Linked DNA regions of Homo sapiens: all the other regions are linked to region 4. The links are contacts of gene promoters, found by promoter capture Hi-C in blood cells and fetal thymus (Javierre and others, 2016). All regions are on one chromosome and are shown on one strand. Each heading gives the region's core, a stretch centred on a gene start or on the middle of the fragment in contact. The rest is flanking DNA. Distances are from core to core; before and after follow the strand shown. Region 1 has its middle 45 kb from the start of CCDC26. Region 2 overlaps CCDC26 (CCDC26 long non-coding RNA). Region 3 overlaps CCDC26 (CCDC26 long non-coding RNA). Region 4 holds the start of PVT1 (Pvt1 oncogene). Region 5 has its middle 16 kb from the start of CCDC26. Region 6 overlaps CCDC26 (CCDC26 long non-coding RNA).

What was found. The method cuts DNA at HindIII sites, captures the fragments that hold promoters and counts their contacts. A CHiCAGO score of 5 or more calls a contact.
Region 1: a contact is called between a fragment that was not itself captured here and the fragment with the promoter of PVT1 in region 4, in 1 of 17 cell types (monocytes). The highest score is 6.6, in monocytes.
Region 2: a contact is called between a fragment that was not itself captured here and the fragment with the promoter of PVT1 in region 4, in 1 of 17 cell types (neutrophils). The highest score is 5.1, in neutrophils.
Region 3: a fragment that was not itself captured here is called in contact with the fragment with the promoter of PVT1 in region 4 in 1 of 17 cell types (erythroblasts); the score reaches 9.3 in erythroblasts.
Region 5: a contact is called between a fragment that was not itself captured here and the fragment with the promoter of PVT1 in region 4, in 2 of 17 cell types (erythroblasts and monocytes). The highest score is 7.1, in erythroblasts.
Region 6: a contact is called between a fragment that was not itself captured here and the fragment with the promoter of PVT1 in region 4, in 3 of 17 cell types (monocytes, erythroblasts and neutrophils). The highest score is 6.4, in monocytes.

The regions. Positions count from the first base shown.
Region 1 is chr8:129,723,658-129,727,045 of GRCh38, forward strand. It overlaps a transcript of GSDMC not described here. Among named protein-coding and RNA genes, the nearest start is that of CCDC26, 45 kb to the left of the region's middle. The HindIII fragment of the contact is 1,474 bases long and covers 553-2,026 here.
Region 2 is chr8:129,567,511-129,570,936 of GRCh38, forward strand. All of the region lies in intron 1 of CCDC26 (CCDC26 long non-coding RNA), which reads right to left. Among named protein-coding and RNA genes, the nearest start is that of MIR3686, 85 kb to the left of the region's middle. The HindIII fragment of the contact is 5,467 bases long and covers 1-3,426 here.
Region 3 is chr8:129,546,496-129,549,772 of GRCh38, forward strand. The region is part of intron 1 of CCDC26 (CCDC26 long non-coding RNA); the gene reads right to left. Among named protein-coding and RNA genes, the nearest start is that of MIR3686, 64 kb to the left of the region's middle. RefSeq lists a silencer at 1,748-1,797 and an enhancer at 2,208-2,327. The HindIII fragment of the contact is 4,991 bases long and covers 1-3,277 here.
Region 4 is chr8:127,792,922-127,796,366 of GRCh38, forward strand. PVT1 (Pvt1 oncogene) reads left to right here and starts at 1,603. Exons shown (of 9, transcript NR_190187.1): 1 at 1,603-1,813. MIR1204 (microRNA 1204) reads left to right here and starts at 3,041; the gene lies at 3,041-3,107. RefSeq lists enhancers at 13-583, 1,726-2,295, 2,296-2,867, 2,589-2,638, 2,739-3,078 and silencers at 1,309-1,358, 1,379-1,438, 1,449-1,608. The HindIII fragment of the contact is 6,547 bases long and covers 1-3,111 here.
Region 5 is chr8:129,694,196-129,697,294 of GRCh38, forward strand. No RefSeq gene overlaps it. Among named protein-coding and RNA genes, the nearest start is that of CCDC26, 16 kb to the left of the region's middle. The HindIII fragment of the contact is 2,455 bases long and covers 516-2,970 here.
Region 6 is chr8:129,673,191-129,676,556 of GRCh38, forward strand. All of the region lies in intron 1 of CCDC26 (CCDC26 long non-coding RNA), which reads right to left. Among named protein-coding and RNA genes, the nearest start is that of CCDC26, 5.4 kb to the right of the region's middle. The HindIII fragment of the contact is 3,102 bases long and covers 71-3,172 here.

The sequences.
Region 1 (3,388 bases), core at 40-2,539, 1.9 Mb after region 4:
AGCCCTGGTTCCTAGGCAGCCATTACAAAAGCACAAGGATTTCCAAAATAAAAAGAGACCCAGAGCACACTTGAATCAAGGGCAGTTGCACTGTTTATTTGCAAGTGATTGGATTGCACCCCTACCTTGGTTAAATGGTTTATTTCTCTATGAATTACTCTAGAAAATACTACTACTCTAGCCCTTCCAATTTTTAACTAAGCTGAAAGTATTTTTACTTTTTCCAGACTCTCAGTGAGGAAAGAATGAGGTATGTTTTAATGCTGGAACTTCTAGCAAATAGTAAGTGTTCAATAAATACTTGTTGAATTAACTAATTAATTAATATGTGGGCACAAAAGCTTGCTTTTGCATCCTAAAGCAATCATGGCCTCTGGGGAAAGCCAGGCTTGCTGTATCCTGAGGCAATCACTCACTCTGGAGAAATCCAGCCTCCATGTTGAGAGGGCACTCAAGCCATCTATGGAGAGACCACATGGTTAGGAACTAAGGCCTCCTGCCTACAGCCATGCAAGACAGCCATCTTCAAAACAGATCCTCCAGCCTCAATTAAGCTTTCAGGTGACTATAGCCCTTGCCAACATCCAACTGCAGTCACATGTAAGACCCTAAGCCAGAACCAGCCAGGTAGGCCATTCCCAAATTCTTAACCAGCAGAAAGAGGAAAATATAAGTTAAATGTTTATTATTTTAAGCCATTACGTTTTGGGGGTGATTTGTTATGCAATAGATAATACAATCTATTTGTTTATCAATAGATTATATTGATAACACAATAGATAATACAATAACAATTTGTTTGCAATAGATAATACAATCTTCTTTCACCTTGTCTGAGATGACAGCTTATTAAAATACAAACTCCTGGAAGGCAGGTTTTCTGTCTTATTCCCTCCTGTATTCCTGGTATCTTGTATGCATCCAATAAACAATGAGTAACAACTCACTTAATGACAAGCTGGTTCCTAATTTTGTATAGAAAACTATATATGTTCACACACAGAAACAGAAGTAGAATTCTTCAAAAAAATGATACTTTTTAGCGAAAAAGCGTTAGATAGCATAATTATCCAAAAAGGAACTATTGGAAATTATGGAAAAAAATGTTATTAGAATTCACATAATCCTCCTCCCTTACTGGGGTGGGAGGGAGCTACCTATAGAAGGAATACAGGGCCTTGAAGTATTCAAAGAAATAACAATTAACAAAGGGCATAGTTTGAGGAGCCCAGCTTCTCATGAGAAGAAAAAGGCATTGCAAGGTGGCACAGAGGGACTAAGATCTCAAGCTCTACTTGGAGGTTTTCTTGAAGTGCTCCTGAAGCAATATCATAAAAGGAATTTGAGAATACAAGGCCAGTTGAACAAGTTAACCCTTCAGCCCCTTTCTAACTTGAGCTGTTGTGATTGCTCCTGTCCTCTGCTAGCCTGAGAAAGCTCAAGAGGAAGACCATGGGGCCACCATTTTCCACATTCACATTCACACATGCCCTCTCTCCATCAAGTATCTTATTAGACTATCTGTTGGAGTACAGGCTAAATAAGTGTCCTCAAATAAGTGATGGTGAATAATGGCAGCACGTCCCTGTCCTGTTCCCTGACAATAAAGCTGGTATAGATTAAAGGCAAGATTTATCCTCCCTGGAACCTCAGGTAATGAACTGACTACCTGTATTCAAATCAAAGACACACTCATGCGTTCTTTTCTTTCTAACAGCTCAATTTCCAGAGTTGATATTGTGTACTCTGCCACATGCTGTGAGGTATGTAAGAAAAGTGGCATGTGGCCTGGCATCTCAGTTACTTATCACCCCCCTCCAGAGCCAGGGAGCAGTTTCAAATGTGTTCGATTGCCCAAGATCTAAAAATTAAAAATAGTAATTTAAATGTCCCAGATCAGAAAATCATATTCTTCTCTTCTTTCCATTTGTTGCTTTTGAGTCTCGCCACGACCACAATATCAGGTACACAGCAGGCCTCTAAAACTCAATATTACTATTGCTGTTAGTTCCATTGATTCAAGAAAAGCTTGTTGGGCATCAACTATGTGCTAGCACTATACTAGGTTCTTTATATACACTATTTAATTTATGTCAATAGCAATCCAATGCGCTGGGGAAAATGAAGCTCAAAGATTTTGAATTATTTACCGGAGGTTGCAAAGTTAGGGATCGGCCCAACTCCAAACCCAGGTTTTTCTGGTTAGCCCTGCTGCCCTAATCAATACAGTCTTTTAAATGAAGAAGAACTTTGTATCCACCAAGATAATGAATCCCAAGATTCTCACCACCCCTGCTTTCTTATGTGTTAACCAAGATTCCAATGTTTTGAAAGACTTTAATTGCCTGGCTGAATTTATTTAAAGAGAATATTCCTCTGCTTATGGAAAAATATTTGAAACTCCCAACCCAGGTCTTTGCTCAACATGAGACAATCAGATTTATCACAGAATCCATAATGATCCTAGCATAAGCAGTTGACATTTTACCAAGGCATGGCTTTTCTGAAATATTGACAATTGTTCTAAGTTCCTCATCATTCTGGTCTTACCTCCCAGAGATTTTTAAGGGAGACATTTAATACAATCAATGTAGTGTTTCAAGAAGGAGGTTCTATTCTGATATTAATATAAAAGGAGACCAGTGTTAGGCCCTCAGTTGATGCCCCACTTCTCCCAGCCCACTCCATGTTAACCCAGCAAGGAGAAAGACATGGAAGAGGGGAGGCAGGAGGGCAGGGTGTGAGAGAGAGGAGATGGCCTTGAATTCAGTAGGTCCGGAAGCATATAAAGGAGAGTGGCAGGCAGCACCAAGCATCCTGCTGTTTGACAATGCTGCCACCTTCTGGCATATATTGGAAATTTACTAGAAAAATATTACTAGTCACTGTCATTTTATAGATAACCCAGAAAGATGTGATCGGATATACGAATAAAGTTTGTTTTAATTACCTCCAAGGTATTCCTGGTATCTATTGAAACTAGAATTCAATACACTTACTTTTCAAGCTCCTGTCTTTTAAAGTATTCCATACTGTGCGTGGACGATTAGAGAAACTTCCTGGATGTCATACTTACCTCCATGCAGGCTCCCTTCCAATCCAGTCCCTCCCCCCACCCACCCCCTGCCTCTAGCAGTCAGAGTCTCCATGACTTAATTTCACTTGGAACAAATTCAAATGTGTTTCTCTGGCCCAGGAAGGATCCCAAACTGGTAGCCTGCAAGCCCAGTTACAGCAGCTCAGCTTTTATATAAATGACCAGAATAGTGTTTTAAATGACTACAGTGGGATACCCCCATGTCTCAGTCTTCCAGCAACTTCCCAACCACACCCAATACACATACACACACACACACACACACACACACCTATTCACATACTCATTTAC
Region 2 (3,426 bases), core at 565-3,064, 1.8 Mb after region 4:
AACTCTACAAATTTACTAAAATAATTAAATTGAACAATTACAATGAGTAAATTTTGTTAGGAAATTATAGCTCAATAAAGCAATCAAAACAAAACACACACACACAGGCACAAACATATTTCATGTATTTTTAATCCAGGTTCATAGGAAAGTGCTTGACAATAATGCCATGTAGCTGCCTTATACTGATCATCTCCTTAAGAGCCAGCTACTTTTATCCCTGTTCCTGAAAGCCACCTTCAGAGAGAAATCATAGTAACCCAGGGACACGCAAAGAAGCCAGCTGAGTTAGGAATGGAACACAATTGGGCCTACCTCTAAATCCTATACACAATTTATCTCATCATACCCACTGATATAGAAAGAATCCATTGCCCCAGATTCACATGGTGTAGTCAAAGTAATAAACTAGATTCACCCTGCACCTGCTTATCTTTCTTGCTGTTGTCAGACCCCGCTACCCTGATCTCCTGGCCACCATCTTGGGATGATCCCGCAAATCAAGGTTGATCGTGTCATTCCGGTGCTCAAAAGGGTGCCCTGGTGCTGAAACCTTGGCTTGGGCCCTTCCCAACCTGGCTCCAGCCCCCAGCATCTAGGGCATCCTTGCTCACTGTTTCCCCATACCACTGTGCACTGCTTTTCTCTGAACTTCTCACCTGTCTTTGAAGTTGATGGCCATTTTCACATTGCTTTGTCTTTGTCCGTGAGGTTCCTCTCACCTGAAATGCTTGACTTTTCCTTGCCACTGCCACATATCAGCTAACTCCTGCTCTTATTTTAACATCATGAATATCTATCATTCTCAGTGAGCCTTCTACTGCTTCTCCGAGAGAAGTTAATTGTTCCAAGCAGGTTTTATACACTATGTTTATTTTCTTCATTCTCTTTAATAGCATTTTAAAACATGCCCCCAGTTTAAGTCTAGTGCGTTTGTCATATTTTCTTCATAACCATAGCATATACCATTAAAGGATTACTTGGATTCAGTTCTGATCTTAAGATTCCATCATTTATTAGCTCTGTGACCTTGGGAAAGTTTATGTAAACTCTTGACATCAGTTTTCCCAATTATGAAATGAGACCAATGAAAGCACATACCTCAAAGATACTTATAAGAATTAAACAATCTAATAATCATTAATGAAAAAGCATATTTTCCAGTCCATCAAAAGTGCTTAAAAAATGTTAAATAATAATACTAATTTTTACCAGTATAGCAAAGGCTCAATAAATGTGAATCGAATAAGGGAGAGAGAGAAGATACAGGAAAGAAGTAAAGAAGGGAAGGGGAAGAAGAAGCTCCTTGAAAAAATGGATAAGAGCTTATGATTTAGCATCAGGCAATATTGAATCTTTGCCTTGCTATTGTAGATTGGGTAATCTTGGACAAGTTATTTGAACTCCACATGTTTCAACATGAAGGTAAGTATACCACTGGATAACACATATAAAGCACTTAGCACAGTATCTAGCCTGCAGTAAGTCATGTTAAAGAAGAAAAAGAAACAAAGGTTTGTGAAAAAGAAAAATCCTCTTGCTTAATCTTTTTTATTCATCTTTGGCAAAGGTCACCTAAATAATTTCTTAACCATTCTGCCTTTATATGCTGTTTGGATACTGCCTAGAAATCCAGGATTCCAAGGTGGTTGAGAGAAGTGGGTTATGAACAATGATGATCCAGTCTCACTTTCACCTCTACCTGATATACAAAATTCCCTTCCAACATGGTCAACTCCAGTGAATCTTCACTATTTTGATCTTTAGCTACTTTCTCATGAGAATATTATTAAAAGCAGAGAGGAAATAACTAAATGGAAAAAGATTAGCCAAGAAGCAATGAAGAAATTCTCAACAAAATATTTAGCAAGCCACGTAAAAAGGATTAAACACCTTGGCCAAGTGAGATTTATCACAGGAATGCAACATTGTTTTGACAACAAAAATCAAAAAAAAATACATAATCATCTCAATAGACACAGAAAACACATTCAACAAAATCCAGTGTGCATTCATGATTTCAAAACTTGGAATAGAAGGAAAATTTCTCATCATGATAAAGAGCATCTACAAAAAATTTACAGCTAACACCACACTTAATGCTAAAAAGACTATATGCTTTCCCCCATAAGATTCAGAATAAAGCAAGGACGTCTGCTTTGGCACTTCTATTCAACATTGTACTACAGGATCTAGCCAGTGAAATCAGGCAAGCATATAAAATAATGGGCACCCAAGTAGCAAGGAAGAAGATGACAGGATTTTGTATGTAGAAAATCCAAAGGATCCATTAAAAATACTGGAAATAACAAGTTTAGCAAGGTCACATGATAGAAGATAAATTCACAAAAATTGACTGTATTTGTACAAGCAATGAACAATCTGAAAATGAAATTAAGAAAAAATTCAGTTCACAATGACATCAAAAGAATAAAATGGAAAGTATTTTAACAGATGATGAACAAGACTTGCACACTTAAAATCACAAAACATTCTTGAAAGAAAGAATATCGGCTGGGCACGGTGGCTCACGCCTGTAATCGCAGCACTTTGGGAGGCCGAGGCGGGAGGATCACGAAGTCAGGAGATCAAGACCATCCTGGCTAACACGGTGAAACCCCATCTCTACCAAAAATACAAAAAATTAGCCGGGCGTGGTGGCGGGCGCCTGTAGTCCCAGCTACTCAGGAGGCTGAGGCAGGAGAATGGCATGAACCCGGGAGGTGGAGCTTGCAGTGAGCTGAGATCGCGCCACTGCACTCCAGCCTGGGTGACAGAGCGAGACTCCGTCTCAAAACAAAACAAAACAAAACAAAAAACAAAAACAAAAAGAAAGAATATCTAAATATATGAAAATATGCCCCATGTCCATGTATTGAAGACTCAATAGTGTTGAGATGATGATTCTACCCAAATAGATGTACAGATTCAATGAAATCCCTATCAATTCCCAGCTGGGCTTTTGGCAGAAATTGACAAACTAATCTTAAAATTCACATGGAAATGCAAGGGAACCAGAATAGCCAATTTTCAAAAATGAAAACAAAATTAGAGGACTTACACTTCTCAATTTGCATATTTCCTATAAAGCTAAACTAATCAAGACAATGTGGTACTGGTATAAGCATAGACATATAGATCAATGGATAAACCCTTACAGACAATAGATTTTCAACAAGGGTGTCAAGAAAACTAAATGGGAAAGAAGTTTATTTTTCACCAAATAATTCTGGAACAGTTGAATATTCACATGCAAAAAGATTAATTAGGACACCTACTTCATACCACACACAAAAACATACTCAAAATTGACTACAGGCCTACATGTAGGTACTCAAAACTATAAAACTCTTAGAAGAAAACACAAGAGAAAAGTCTTCATGATTTGGGGTTAGGCATATTTCTTAGATACAACACAAAACAAGC
Region 3 (3,277 bases), core at 510-3,009, 1.8 Mb after region 4:
TGGTTGAGCTGAGTTTTCAAAACTAAATAGGAGAAGAATAGGAAAATATCTAGAGAAAATATAGGGAACAGCATACAGAAAAGGACAGAGGCAACACAAACTGCATTTCAGTGGTATTCCTAAGAGTCCATTGTTGCTGGAGCTTAGAGAGGTGCACAAGTCAGGCTGTAAGAGACAAGGGGGACTAGTAGCCAGCCAGAGACTAGATCAGTGTTCTTGGATGCCATGCTAAGGAGCTTGCCCTTTATCTTGTGAATAACAGAGAACCAGAGAAAGGTCATGTTCAGTGCTGCGAATATGGTCTGAGCAGGGGCCAGAAGAGAGGGAGAGGGATCACTGAGGGGCTCTTGCAATAATCTGGGCTATCCAAGATGAATGAATGAATAAACAGATGAATGAATGATCATATAGATGAATGGTTCTGATAAGTTCTGCTGGAGTTTCTACTCACATGAGAAAAGGAAGTGGCTTTCACATGCTTTTCAACTGCTCTCCCTTCCCCCACCCCCAGCACTCATGAATGGTTTCTCTCTTTTGCACGCATGTGTGTCTCTTCCTCATATACTGATTTCAGAGCTGCAGCCTAAGCGTCTTGTATTGTGCTGGTTATATTTAAACAATTCACTGTGCGAGGCAAGTGCCCAAACCAATTAAATAGAAATCTTCAAGAGTCCCAGGCAGAGAATAGAAATCAACAGTCAAGGTAGAGTTTGGACCAAAATGGTCATCAATTAGAGCTATTCTAAGATTGCTCTGACTATAGAAGAGTAAAATTGAGGGTGCTGAGAACAGGCAAATGTCTGAAAAGTGGGCACAAATTGTTAGCAAATGTGGCTCTCAGATATGCCACATAAATGCAGAGGCCAAGGCTAGTTGTCTTTGATTCATTGATTTACTAGCATTAATACACAAAATTATATGTGTGCCATACAGTGAATAGTAGATGCAAAGATGAGTAAGACACAGTGTATACCTTCAGGAAGCTCCCAGTTTAGTGGAGCTGAATGGGAAGCCAGTTAAGCATACTACATTGCAATAGCTGCTGAGACATATGAAAAATAAGGGAGCACTTCATTCTACCTTGGAGTAAAGACAGCCTTGACATGAAAGTCCAGCAGGATCTAGAAGGGTGAGTTAGGCTTTGTAAAATCAGGTAAACAGCTCATACAAAGACATAAAGGTGTGAAAATGAGGTAGGACTTGGAGAACTAGAAAAATAATTTGGCCAAATCTGAACACTTAAAGCTGAGATCCTTAGTTGATGATCTCTTTGTCACTCCCTCTTGCACTCAGGACAATGGTTTCAAAAGGCAGTTCCCTACTCTTGACAACAGAAAGGCTGGGGGGCAAACACTGTCTTCAGATAGTAAAGAGATACTGCTAATCAGCACATCAGGAAACCTATGACCCAACCATTGTTAAAAATGAAAGCAATTAGGTACAGTCCTTCTACAGGGAACTTCCTAAAATACATGTCTGAGATTATGAGCTTGTTCAGTTGCATGAGAAACAACAGGGAAAGCTAAACTTCTTTCCCAAGGCTGGCACTTACTTAGTTGAATGACCTTAGAAAGGTAAGAAACTCCCTGAATCTCTGTTTCTTAATCCATAAAGGGGGATGAGTACTTGTGTGATAATTCCCACTCCATAGGATTATTGCGAGAATTAAATATGACATATATAAGATGATCATGCACAGAGCCTAACACATGTAATGAACAAATGTGAGCCCCCTTACCTTCCTCCTGTCCCCTTCAGTCCTGGACTGAGTTCAATGCACACATCTTGCACAGAATAGATGTTCATATATTCTTGGTTTAAGTGCCTATCAACCTTCATATAATTCCACTGGGTCTACTGAAAGATGGCAGAAGACGGACAGTCATAGTGTTTACTATGGGCCAAATCCTTCTCCCATATTTGCTCCTTTAATTTTCCCAATTCAATGAAGTAGCTCAGTGAAGTAGCTCAATGATGTAGCTCGGTGAAGTGCCCCACTTTGCAGTTGACAAGTTCTAAGGCTCAGAGTTGAAGTGACATCCGAGGTCATTCAGCTAGTGACATGGCAGAGTTCTGTGCCTACCGTGATAGTCGGACTCTCCAAAAGTGGCCACTTCCTGAGATGAGGCTGAGGTTATCTCAGTCACCTATACAAACCAGATCTGGATATGGTTATGACTTGTACCGGAGTGGCATTGTCTTGAACCTTGCTCAATTACATCTGCCAGTATGTCCTGCATATCAGATCCAACGTCCACGTGACTTGCTCTGTTTAAGGTGGTATTTCTGGAACTTTTTTATTAATGATAAACAACAAGAAGAATTCTCATGATACTGAAAGAGTCTGTGAGGAAGTGGCCTAAGCAATAATCTATAGGCTTTCTTAATATCCTACATGAGTACAAAAACAAACAAACAAACAAAAACACAGAAAATCAACCAAATGAGTTGGATATGACACAGTTAAAAATGTGCAAAATGTCCTTGTTTCTCAGTATCAGTCATTTTGGGGCCACTTTGGGGAGGTTTTGTGCCTTTTTTTAAACTTCCAGATTTCATACTTTCTGTTCAGCTTTTGCAACTTCCCATGAGTACAGTTATAAAGAAAATAGAAAAAAACAGAACCTCAGCCCTCCTGTATCACTTTTAAGAAGGTGCCTCTTGCAGAAGAAAATTTGGGCCATAAAAAGCCCTTACAGGTTTGCTTTAGCTCTCCCCTTCAAGAGCATTATTTTTCTTCTTTTTTTTTTTTTTTTTATCTTTTATTTTTTTCTGGTAAGTAAGTAGTCTTCGGATGATCGGCGTTGCATATCTTTGGGAAAAATTCATGCCAGACTAGTCAAATCATAACGGCTGCTATCATCAGTTCGCTATGGTTTCCAAGTCACTCTCCAACACAGAAACCACACATACACACAACTACATAAGTCTCCTCTAATTTTGACATTGGAAATATCCATTTCAAAGTTTTTAGGTTAAAAATGAACATAATCACAAAATAGCATCTGATCATCACAAATCTAAAATAGAATCCAGATCATGCAGTGTACAATGCTCATTGACTACGCCTTTCCATTTCTTAGCACACAGAAATAAACTCTGGATGTCTGCATGGCACACTACTTATGGTGGTCTACCTACTGTAAGCAGCTGGCAGCTTTGGTCACTCGATATGAACCTCCCAAGCAAAATTACTGCAGTGTGCCATTTACCTGGAAAAAAAGAAATGTGCCTTCTTCTTGTTCTACCACTGACTACCTGAGAAACATTGTGTTAA
Region 4 (3,445 bases), core at 353-2,852:
GAGCCAGGCACAAAGCGGAGACTTGTCCAGCTCCTGGCAAGGAGCCAGGCACAAAAGAGATGCCCATGAGTGTAAATGAATCTGTGAAACAGGCAGAACAGGAGCATCAACTGAGTAATTGTTTTTTCTTTTTCAAATAAGAACATTTGCGTTGAGAAGCCGCCACGGGAAGAGATGTGATGAAACACTACACAGAAAGAGGGAGGAGCCTCCGGGTAGGTTGGAGTGAGTAGGATGTAGGGTAGCCGGCAGGGGAGAAGAGGGGCAACCTTCTGTTCCGTAATATTGATACCACCCATTTGTGTGTCCAATTTTTGCTGGTTTGTGACGTCCTTCTAGGGTCCATGAGTAACCCCCACCCCATTGCCTAGCTGGGTGCCTGACTCCCCTTAAGTGCTCAGTAGACGTTGAACTGGACGGGCGCTGGCGTGGTGGCTCACGCCTGTAATCCCAGCAATTTGGGAGGCCGAAGCGAGTGGATCATCTCAGGTTCGGAGTTCGAGACCAGCCTGGCCAACATGGTGAAACCTTGTCTCTGCTAAAATTACAAAAATTAGCTGGGCGTGGTGGCGCGCGCCTGTGATCCCAGCTACTCCGGAGGCTGAGGCAGGAGAATCGCTTGAACCAGGCAGGCGGAGGTTGCAGTGAGCCATGATCGGGCCACTGCACTCCAGCCTGGGTGACAGAGTGAAACTTCATCTCTAAATAAATAAATAAATAAATAAATAAATAAATAAATAAAATAAACTTTGAACTGAACAGGGGCAGCTCTTACATCTGTCCAGTCTCGGGTTTATGCAGATAGAACAAGATAACCACATCCCACATGGGAGGCCAGTGTCCACTTGCTCCTTTGGAGGAACTACTGGGCATTTAAGGGACTCGTTGAACACACTCTGTAGGTCAACTCTGCCCGGAGTGGAGGGAGCTGCGCAGACCGCTGGCCCTCTGCACGGGTTTGCAACTCGGCTTCTGGAAACAGCGGGAGACGTCGAAGGAGGCGAGAAGGTGCGCGCGCCCTTCTCACCAGGCCGGCGGATGCTGGGTGGTACCCAAAGAGGCGCTCAGATCACTGGAGCTGGAGCTCAGTCGGCGGTCTTCTGCGGGAACTGCACCTATCCCGGAGCATCTCTGGCCCTCCTATTTCACTGAACTCGCCTTCCTCAGCAGGAAAGTGGGAAGACCGCTTGCTTCCAGGACGGTGTGGGGAAGGGTAAGAGGGCTCAGGGAAAGACCGTGGAAAGCTCGGCGCACAAGCGAGCTGGCATCACCGGGGATTCCCTCCGGCCCGGTGGGACTCCGGCGCGCTTGTAGCGAGGACCCCCAGCCCAGGGCAGAGCCTACCCTCCGCTCCCCCAGTCTGGGCCCTTGGCGGCCGCAGTCGCCCAAGCCCGCCCCGCCTCCGCGCGCGGCCCTCTCCGGCTCAGTGCCCTGCGCTGCCGGGAAGCAGGCTGAGGGGCGCACCGGGCGGCGGGCGGGGACCTGGGGAAGGCCGGGAGCGCCGGGACCGAGGACGCACGCGGCGGGCCGGGCCGCGCGCGCCTCCCCCCTCCCCCGAGGCCCGAGCGCGAGCCGCCGTGACGTCACGGGCAACCCGCCAGCCCCGCGCTCCTCCGGGCAGAGCGCGTGTGGCGGCCGAGCACATGGGCCCGCGGGCCGGGCGGGCTCGGGGCGGCCGGGACGAGGAGGGGCGACGACGAGCTGCGAGCAAAGATGTGCCCCGGGACCCCCGGCACCTTCCAGTGGATTTCCTTGCGGAAAGGATGTTGGCGGTCCCTGTGACCTGTGGAGACACGGCCAGATCTGCCCTCCAGTAAGTTCCAATTTTGTCCCCTGCGTTTCTGGAAACTCTCGAGACTTGGCCCTGAGTAGGGATGCGCTGTGAGTAGTCGGACGGAGGAAAGGGGCTTTCGGAATCCAATATGTGTGTGCTAGGCGTGCACTGTCCTCATCACCAGCCTCAAGACTGGTGGCGAGTTTGGGCGTTTGGGGAGGGTGAGGGGAGGGGGATGACACCGAATGGCCGGTGCATAGAGGCAATTCTGGATTTATGAACTTGATCAAAGGCATATTAACTAATTTCTAAAAATAGACCCCTCTGCAGTCAGAACAGATTTGGAGCCATGATGTGGTTTGGAGGCCCCTCTGGCGAAACTAGAGGTCTGTGAATGTGTGATCCTCCCTCCATCCTTTGACCATCACTCCCCGCTTCCTCTCACACCCCCTCAGGGCTGGGCGAAGGTGATTTCCAAAAACTCAGTAACTCCGTGTTTTGAGACTTTCTCAGTTTTTGCATCGCATGTGAGGGTTTGTTGGGTGCTCCTAAACCCTCATCATGGTCATTCTTCTTGGCTGGGCTGTTGATTTAATTAGGTTTGCCTTCTCTTGCTAACGTGCTCTTATTTATGCCAGTGTTTGTGGTTCTGGGTGTAGACTTTCAGGAAGCACAGCCATGAAGCTGCATGCGTCTGTGTGTGGATGCCTCATGCCTTTTCCTGGTGGTTTGCAGGCATGGAAGATTCTTCTGTTCATCTAAGCTCCTGACTTTAGGCCCTTCTAGAACATTAGAGAGGAGAAGAAATCACGTGCAAGGATTTAGGGACAAGAGGATGAGGTTTTGGTGTTTCCTTTCTGGTATTAGGTTTTCCAGAGAGAGGCTGTTAGCCTGTCTCTCGCCCACTCCACCACTGTGAATCCTGGCTACTGGGGCTAGTTCCTTGCTAGGAAAAAAAAACTCTAGAGAAATGTGTTTGTGTGTGGTGGGTGGGCGGGGGCCCTGAGGATGCAGGGACTGTGTCTGCTGTGTTGTCTGTTATAAGATGTTTCAGACCTATTTTGCATACTGGCAGCGACAAGTTGAGACTTGTTCAACTTGACACAGTCCTGTGGTCATAGCGAATCTTTCTAAAGCTCTGATCAGTCAAGAAGGGGGTTGTATCAATCCTCAGAACCCTGAGTGGAACTTTCTACAGGATTTATTAGGAGAAAAACCTTCCCGGAAGCTGCAGAAGGACAAATACAGAATCCGTGTCTGGGAGAAACCTCGTGGCCTGGTCTCCATTATTTGAGATGAGTTACATCTTGGAGGTGAGGACGTGCCTCGTGGTCTAAAGCTTCGGCACAAGGGCCCAACTGGAATTCCACTTACGGGTATGACTGTGGGGTATATGCTGTACCCATTGAATTCCCAGAGGGATTTGTTAAGTGGTTGTGTTGCTGTTTTGCCTGGTTAAGAGTGGCTTATTCTTGTTGCCTCATCTATCTTGAGTGCAGAATTTTTGCATAAACGGCTTCTCTTGAAAAATAGAAGTCCGTTTTTGTTTTGTTTTGTTTTTTTTCTGATTAACTTTCCTTTTCCTCTGTCTTAAACACCTTCCCCCGCCCCTCGCCACCTCCATGCTGTGTTTCTGTGGCTGGAGCTTTTCTGCACTGGAAAGGAGGAGTT
Region 5 (3,099 bases), core at 493-2,992, 1.9 Mb after region 4:
ATTAAGAGTTATGAAGCCCTTAATACATGGTATCTTAACTGTTTCTTTATTTTTATGTAAAAAATATATATAAATGAAGATGAAGAAGATACTTGGTCCCCAAGGAGTTCACAGGCTACTAGGGGGGCCGGACATGTAATTTGTCAATTCCAAATGCTGTGTTCTCATACATCCTCACCTGTGGGGTAAGCATTATGATTTGCATTTGACAAGGAAACATTAAGATGCTCAGAAACATTAAGTTTTTTGCTCAAACCACAGAGCTAGTGAGTGCCAGACCTAGAAGCCAGGTCTCCTGAATCCTGGGACAAAAGGTGTTCCACCAGCTGTCCTCCTGCCTTCTGGACTTGGCCTGCTTTTCAATTCTTGCATTTGAAAGCAGACAGGTCCAGAATTCTGGGAAAACACACTATTCACCAGGAGTGACTCTGGCAGGACCAGGAGGTGGTCTTGCTTCAGGAGTCTGACACCCTTCTCCCTGTTCCAAGCTAGGTACTAACTCATTCTGAGAGGGAAGCTTGGGCGACAGCTGTGAATGCCCATTCTCACCCCCACTGAGCTGGTTTTCACATCTTTCCTGGGTCAAGGGATTTTAGAGGGCTTGTGCTGAAGAGGTTTCCTTTGAATGTCAGCAACCATCTGAGGGGAGAATGTTGGCCATTAGCCAATGACTCCAGGTCTACTCTACTTGGTTATGTCAACACTCCAAAGAGAAGATAAGTTCTGGATGGATGCAGTGGCTCACGCTTATAATTCCAGCACTTTGGGAGGCTGAGGTGGGTGTGGGTGTTCAAGACCAGCCTGGGCAACATGACAAAACCCTGTCTCTACAAAACACACACACACAAAAATTAGCTGGGCACAGTGGTACATGCCTGTAGTCCCAGCTACTGGGGAGGCTGAGATGGGAGGATCACTTGAGCCAGGGAGGCAGAGGTTGCAGTGAACAGAGATCACACTACTGCACTCCAGCCTGGGTGATAGAGTAAGATCCTGTCTCAGAAAAAAAAAAAAAATGTTCTGACTTAGAAACTGCTCCCCCAAGAGCCAACTTGATGAGCACCTATGAACAAGTTTTCTATACTGCAAAGCACAAACCTTTGAACTCACAAAACCATGTTATTTGGGGCAAGTTACTCAAATTCTTTGAACCTTACCTTCCTAATCTGAAAAATAAATTCTTATGATACTTGTGAAGATTGAATTTGATGAATCATATACCACCTTGTATCATGTGATAGCTCTCACCATCATCCTCTGGTTTTTTAACCTTCATTTTCCTTCTCTATTTCTTACTCCATCTTTCTCTTGGTCCTTATCTCATTCTGTTATTTTTTGGACATTTCTCATATTGTGAAGGTCCTTTAGGTTCAGATCATCTCCTCTGGAGAGTAACTTCCCACCTCCCTGTGGTCAGCATGCAGGAGAGTCCAAAATAAAGCACAATTAGAATTTCCTGGAAGAGTTGAGAACAGGGAATTTTTAACTCATTCTTGACAATAGAGTGGAAGGTTTCTGGTTTGAGGAACATGCAAGGGCTCTCTGAGCATAGTGTTGGGGTGCCCCATTTACGTAGTGGATCTTGAGAGAGGAGTTGGGCCATGGAGCTGGGCAGAGGAAGATGAGACTCACAAAGTTTCACAGGGCCATCATGGAAGCTCTAGCTAGCACCTGGAACGCCCTCCCATGGCTATGGAAGGAGTTTAAGCACAAGAGTGTAATATCACATCTGTGTTTGATGAAGATGAATCCCATGCTGGCCATGGGAAGGATGGATAGGAGACAAGAGAAGCTAGAGACAAAGACACCAATTAGGAGGTTTTTAAAGTGAACGCTCACAACCATGGCAAGGCAGAGAGCCCAGACTAAGGCAAAAGACAATGAGGATAGACATATGGCAATGGATCAAGAGTCACACCTAAAACACCAACACCACACACGGGACTTGGCAATTGATTTATGCAGGAGGCAATAGAAAGAGCATAAAAATGCTCCTGAGGTTTCCAGCTCGGGAGGTGAGGTTTCCAGTGTCCCTGTTAAGAGAGATTTGGAATGCCAGAGACACACCCACAACAGGAAGAAACAATGAATTTAGTTGGTGACATGTAGTGTTTGAGTTATTTATGGGACATCCCGGTGATGTCCAAAAGGTGTGCAGCAAGTGGATCTGGAGTGGAACCGAGACATCTGGATTGGAGATATAGTTTGGGGGCCATTTGGCATGAAGGTAATAAGATAATATATGAGTGAATAAGAACACCATTAGGATAGAGTCCCTACTTTAAAAAATAAAAGTAAAAAAGCTGAAACACTGGCATTTAGAGAAAGACAAGCCAGCCAAGGAAAGCAGGAAGGAATGGACAGAGAGAGGGGAGAAGAAGTAGGAAAGACTGAGAGGGCCGGGTGAGGGTAAAAGGAGGAGAGAAAGCAGCCATATGGCAGTTATGCAAATTCATATGTTGAAATTCATAGAACTGTACACCAAAATAAGTCAAATTTTTGTACAATAGTTTTAAAAAATAAAATTAATAAAATACCAAAAGAAGTTCTTTATGAACCTACTTACCAGTGGAGGAAACCACTGTCAATACTTTGGCAGATTTCCTTCTAGTCTTTTCTATTATACACTTTTTGAAATGAAATTATATGTGCTATTAACAAGTACAAATGTCACCTTTCTCAATTTATATTAAATTGTTCTAAAATTCCATGTGTTAAATAAATAAAGTGGTACAAATACGGGAAAGGAAGGAAGGAAGGAAGGAACGAAGGAAGGAAGGAAGGAAAGAAGGATTGGAGGGAGGTGGGAGAGAGGGAGGGAGGGAAGGAAGGAGGAAGGGAGGGAAGGAGGGAGGGAGGGAGGGAGGGAAGGAAGGAGAAAAGGATCATAGATATTGCTGAACCCAGCAGAAGGGAAAGGTATGAGAAGAGGATATGGTTTCTTTCAAATTCATTTTAAATCTTACCTAAAGCTTGGACATATACATCCATTTAGAAAGCTCTTGCCCCATTTTTCAAAGAAGGAACAAGAAAAAACTTACTTTTTTTTTTGGAAAGGGAGGTGTGGCACTTCAAGTCACTGTCTAAAACTCTCTTACA
Region 6 (3,366 bases), core at 372-2,871, 1.9 Mb after region 4:
TAATTACACTGCAAAAGCCATGGGAACTACTGAGCTATCATACACTATTGTCCTTGCACAGAATGCCAGAAGCTTGGCACCTACTGAGTCTTCTCTACTTCTTGCTAGTTGTTGTCTGCCAGGCTCTCTGGATTTTATGCAGCTTGCCTGAGCAAAACCTTGCAGCCCCTTCCTCTTCACACTTTTAAAATTTTCTGTATCTAATCTGCTATGTCTTAGGAAACCAGATTGCCAAGTGAGGACTGTTTCTAAGAATAAATAAGTTCTATTCCAAAGCCAGAAACACGTTGCTGTATTCCATGGGATTTTTTTTTCCTTAGAGAAAGAGTCTCCCTGTGTTGTTCAGGCTGGTCTTGAACTCCCGGGTCCAAGCGATCCTCCCACCTCACCCTCCTGAGTAGCTGGGATTACAGGCTCAAGCCACCACACACCTGGCCCTCCACTGACTTTTTGACATTGACACCGTCATCGTTAAGTCTTTTTTTTTGCCCATTTCCTGGTTCTCCATGTTTGTCACAAAGCTGACAAGTGGCCTTTGAATAAGGAACGTCTTATCAACATCCCAGTACATTGCTGGGAGTGATCTTCAGCGCTGGCTCATTAAACTGTTCAGACTAATGTTCACATCTGGTCTCACACCTCAGGGGCACTTTGCAGAAGGTTACTCTCTCCTTTTCTGCCTTCTTAGCAAAACTGAATTATTTCAGGACAGAAATATGTTGAGGTAGGCACAATCTTGTCATCCTGCAAAAAGGAGCCATTCTTAATCAGGGTCATCTCAGCTTCTGTAAGTTTCCAGGGTTTTCTCTCATGGACAACTCAAAAAGGACATCCATTGGTCTGCATCCCCCCACAGGCCAGGGTGTGTATATGCTGAAGAATATAAAAGTATCCTCCCTGGAAAAAGCATAATTGACCCTTCAGGAAAAATTATAAGGGGAATGTGTTTGGGACTAGTAATGATGAAGGGAGGGAGGAGATCAATTTTTTATTGTTTTTTAATTTATTTATTTATTTATTTATTTATTTTTGAGACGGAGTCTCACTCTGTCGCCCAGGCTGGAGTGCAGTGGTGCAATCTCGGCTCACTGCAAGCTCCGCCTCCCGGGTTCATGCCATTCTCCTGCCTCAGCCTCCGGAGTAGCTGGGACTACAGGCGCCCACCACCACGCCTGGCTAATTTTTTGTATTTTTAGTAGAGACAGGGTTTCACCGTGTTAGCCAGGACGGTCTCGATCTCCTGACCTCGTAATCCGCCCGCCTCAGCCTCCCAAAGTGCTGGGATTACAGGCGTGAGCCACCGCACCCAGCCGGAAATCAATTTTTTTCAGCATTCACTGTGTGTTAGACTCTCCAATCTCAGTTTCAGCTTCACTCTGAATCTTTCCTGAATGCAATCTGCAATTCTTCCATTTGCAATTAATTCTTCCTCTCATTTGCCCTCCCTGTCATCTGTAAACCCAAACCACTAGGATGCCTTCTTAAATTTATGTATTCAATACTCTGACTCTCCCACTAGTCTCTGAGCCCCTTTGAAGGATAAGAATTGGATCTTGGTCATCATTGCATTCCCAGAACCAGCACAGTGCCAACATACATAGATGTTTAATTAATGTTTAAATTCTGGAAAGAAGCATGCTTTCGTAAAACTTAAGCTGCCTCCTTGTTTCGTTTACTTGGTCTAAGCAGCCTGGATGAGTTAGTAACTCGGAGCGCAGATCTTCTGGTTACTATTGTCTTCAAGCCCTTCTTCTATCTTCTGATTTTTAAGAAAATCTTTCCTGGAATGATTATCATGAGCTACTATAATTCAATGTCAATGAATTAGGTTTGAATGCCTGAAAGACTCTTGAAATTTTATAGGGGACAGAAAACAGAAGAACCTAACTTTTATTTCATCTCCTCTGTTTACAAGCCTTGTGACCTCAGACAAATAGCTTGAATTCTCAGAATCCTAGGGGTTTGTTTCACTGTAAAATAGAGATAATTATATCTTCCCTAACCTTACAGAATTGAGAGGATCTTATTAGCTAACAAGTGCTAAAGCCATTTGTGATAACTAAAATTTTATATAGCTACAAAGGATTATCACTCTATAAATCATGGGTAAAGCTAAACAAATCAATAATTTGCCCAAGGGTATGGAAAATGGCAAAATGAGATTCTTGAACCAAGTCTTCATCTCTATCATACTGCTGTCTCACCTACAGCCCCTGTGGGGGTAGAAGGGAATGAAAAGGAGAAAAGATGGTACACAGCAGAGAGGCTCTGAATCTCACTGTTTTGCCTTATCTCATAACTTTGCCCCCATCTGCCCCACTCTCCAGTTAACTTCTCAAAGAATCATGCCATGCAACCAAATGGACACAAAGCTACCATGCACAAGGACCATCTCTTCTTCCAGGATAATGGGCACCAGGCCAGGATGGAGAGACCAAAGCCAGTACATATTTGCATGGTCCATTCACCCTTCATTATGACGAACTCTTCTCTCAAGGGTCAAGATGTGAGCATTCATCTTTTTGGGTTCTTCAACTATTAGTACTTGGACTCTCCACAGGTCATATATCATGGCACTGAAGGCAGCAGGTACAGACAAAAGTTGTCACTTGTATTGATATGGTGTGAAGAGGATGATTAATGGAAGTCACACATGACCGCCCAGCTTCTAACTTACCCAAGCTCACTGGAAGTGCTGACTTCGTTATTCTTCATGAGCCACCTTTCCCACCCCGTTCCCCACTGCTGCTTTCAATAATAACATCAGCTTTAGGAGTCTTATTTTGATGGAAGGGAGGGAAAAAGTCATCACCCAAACCATGCCAGTGTGTCTGACAAGCCTGCATGGGTGACTTTCTATTCTCTCATTTCTGCGGCTTTTGTTGAATTTGAAATTCATTCACTCATTCAACAAATATTTAGGATTTCCTACTCTCAGTGCTTGGGGATACAGCAGTAAGTAAAACAGACAAAAATCCATGCCCTGGTGAACCTTACATTCTTGTAATAGAAGACAGGTGTTTCTAAGTAAATTGTAAAGTATGCGACAGGGTGTCAAGTGTGATGGAGAACACAGAGCAGAGAATCGGGGAAGTACCAGGGTAAGGGATTTGTTGCAATTTTAATCAGAGCAGTCAAAGGAAGCCTCATTGATCAGGTGACGTTTGAGCAAAGCTTGAAAGAGGTAAAAGGATTAGCCGAGCAGCTATCTGAAAGAAGAGAACTCAAAAGATGGGAAATGACCATTGCAAAAGCCTGAAGGTGGAAACAAGTCCAAATTGCTTGAAGAATAGCAACAAAGCAAGTGTGGCAGGAGAAGCAAGCCTGAGGAATGTAAAAGGGTGGGTGAGGTCATAGAGGAAAAGA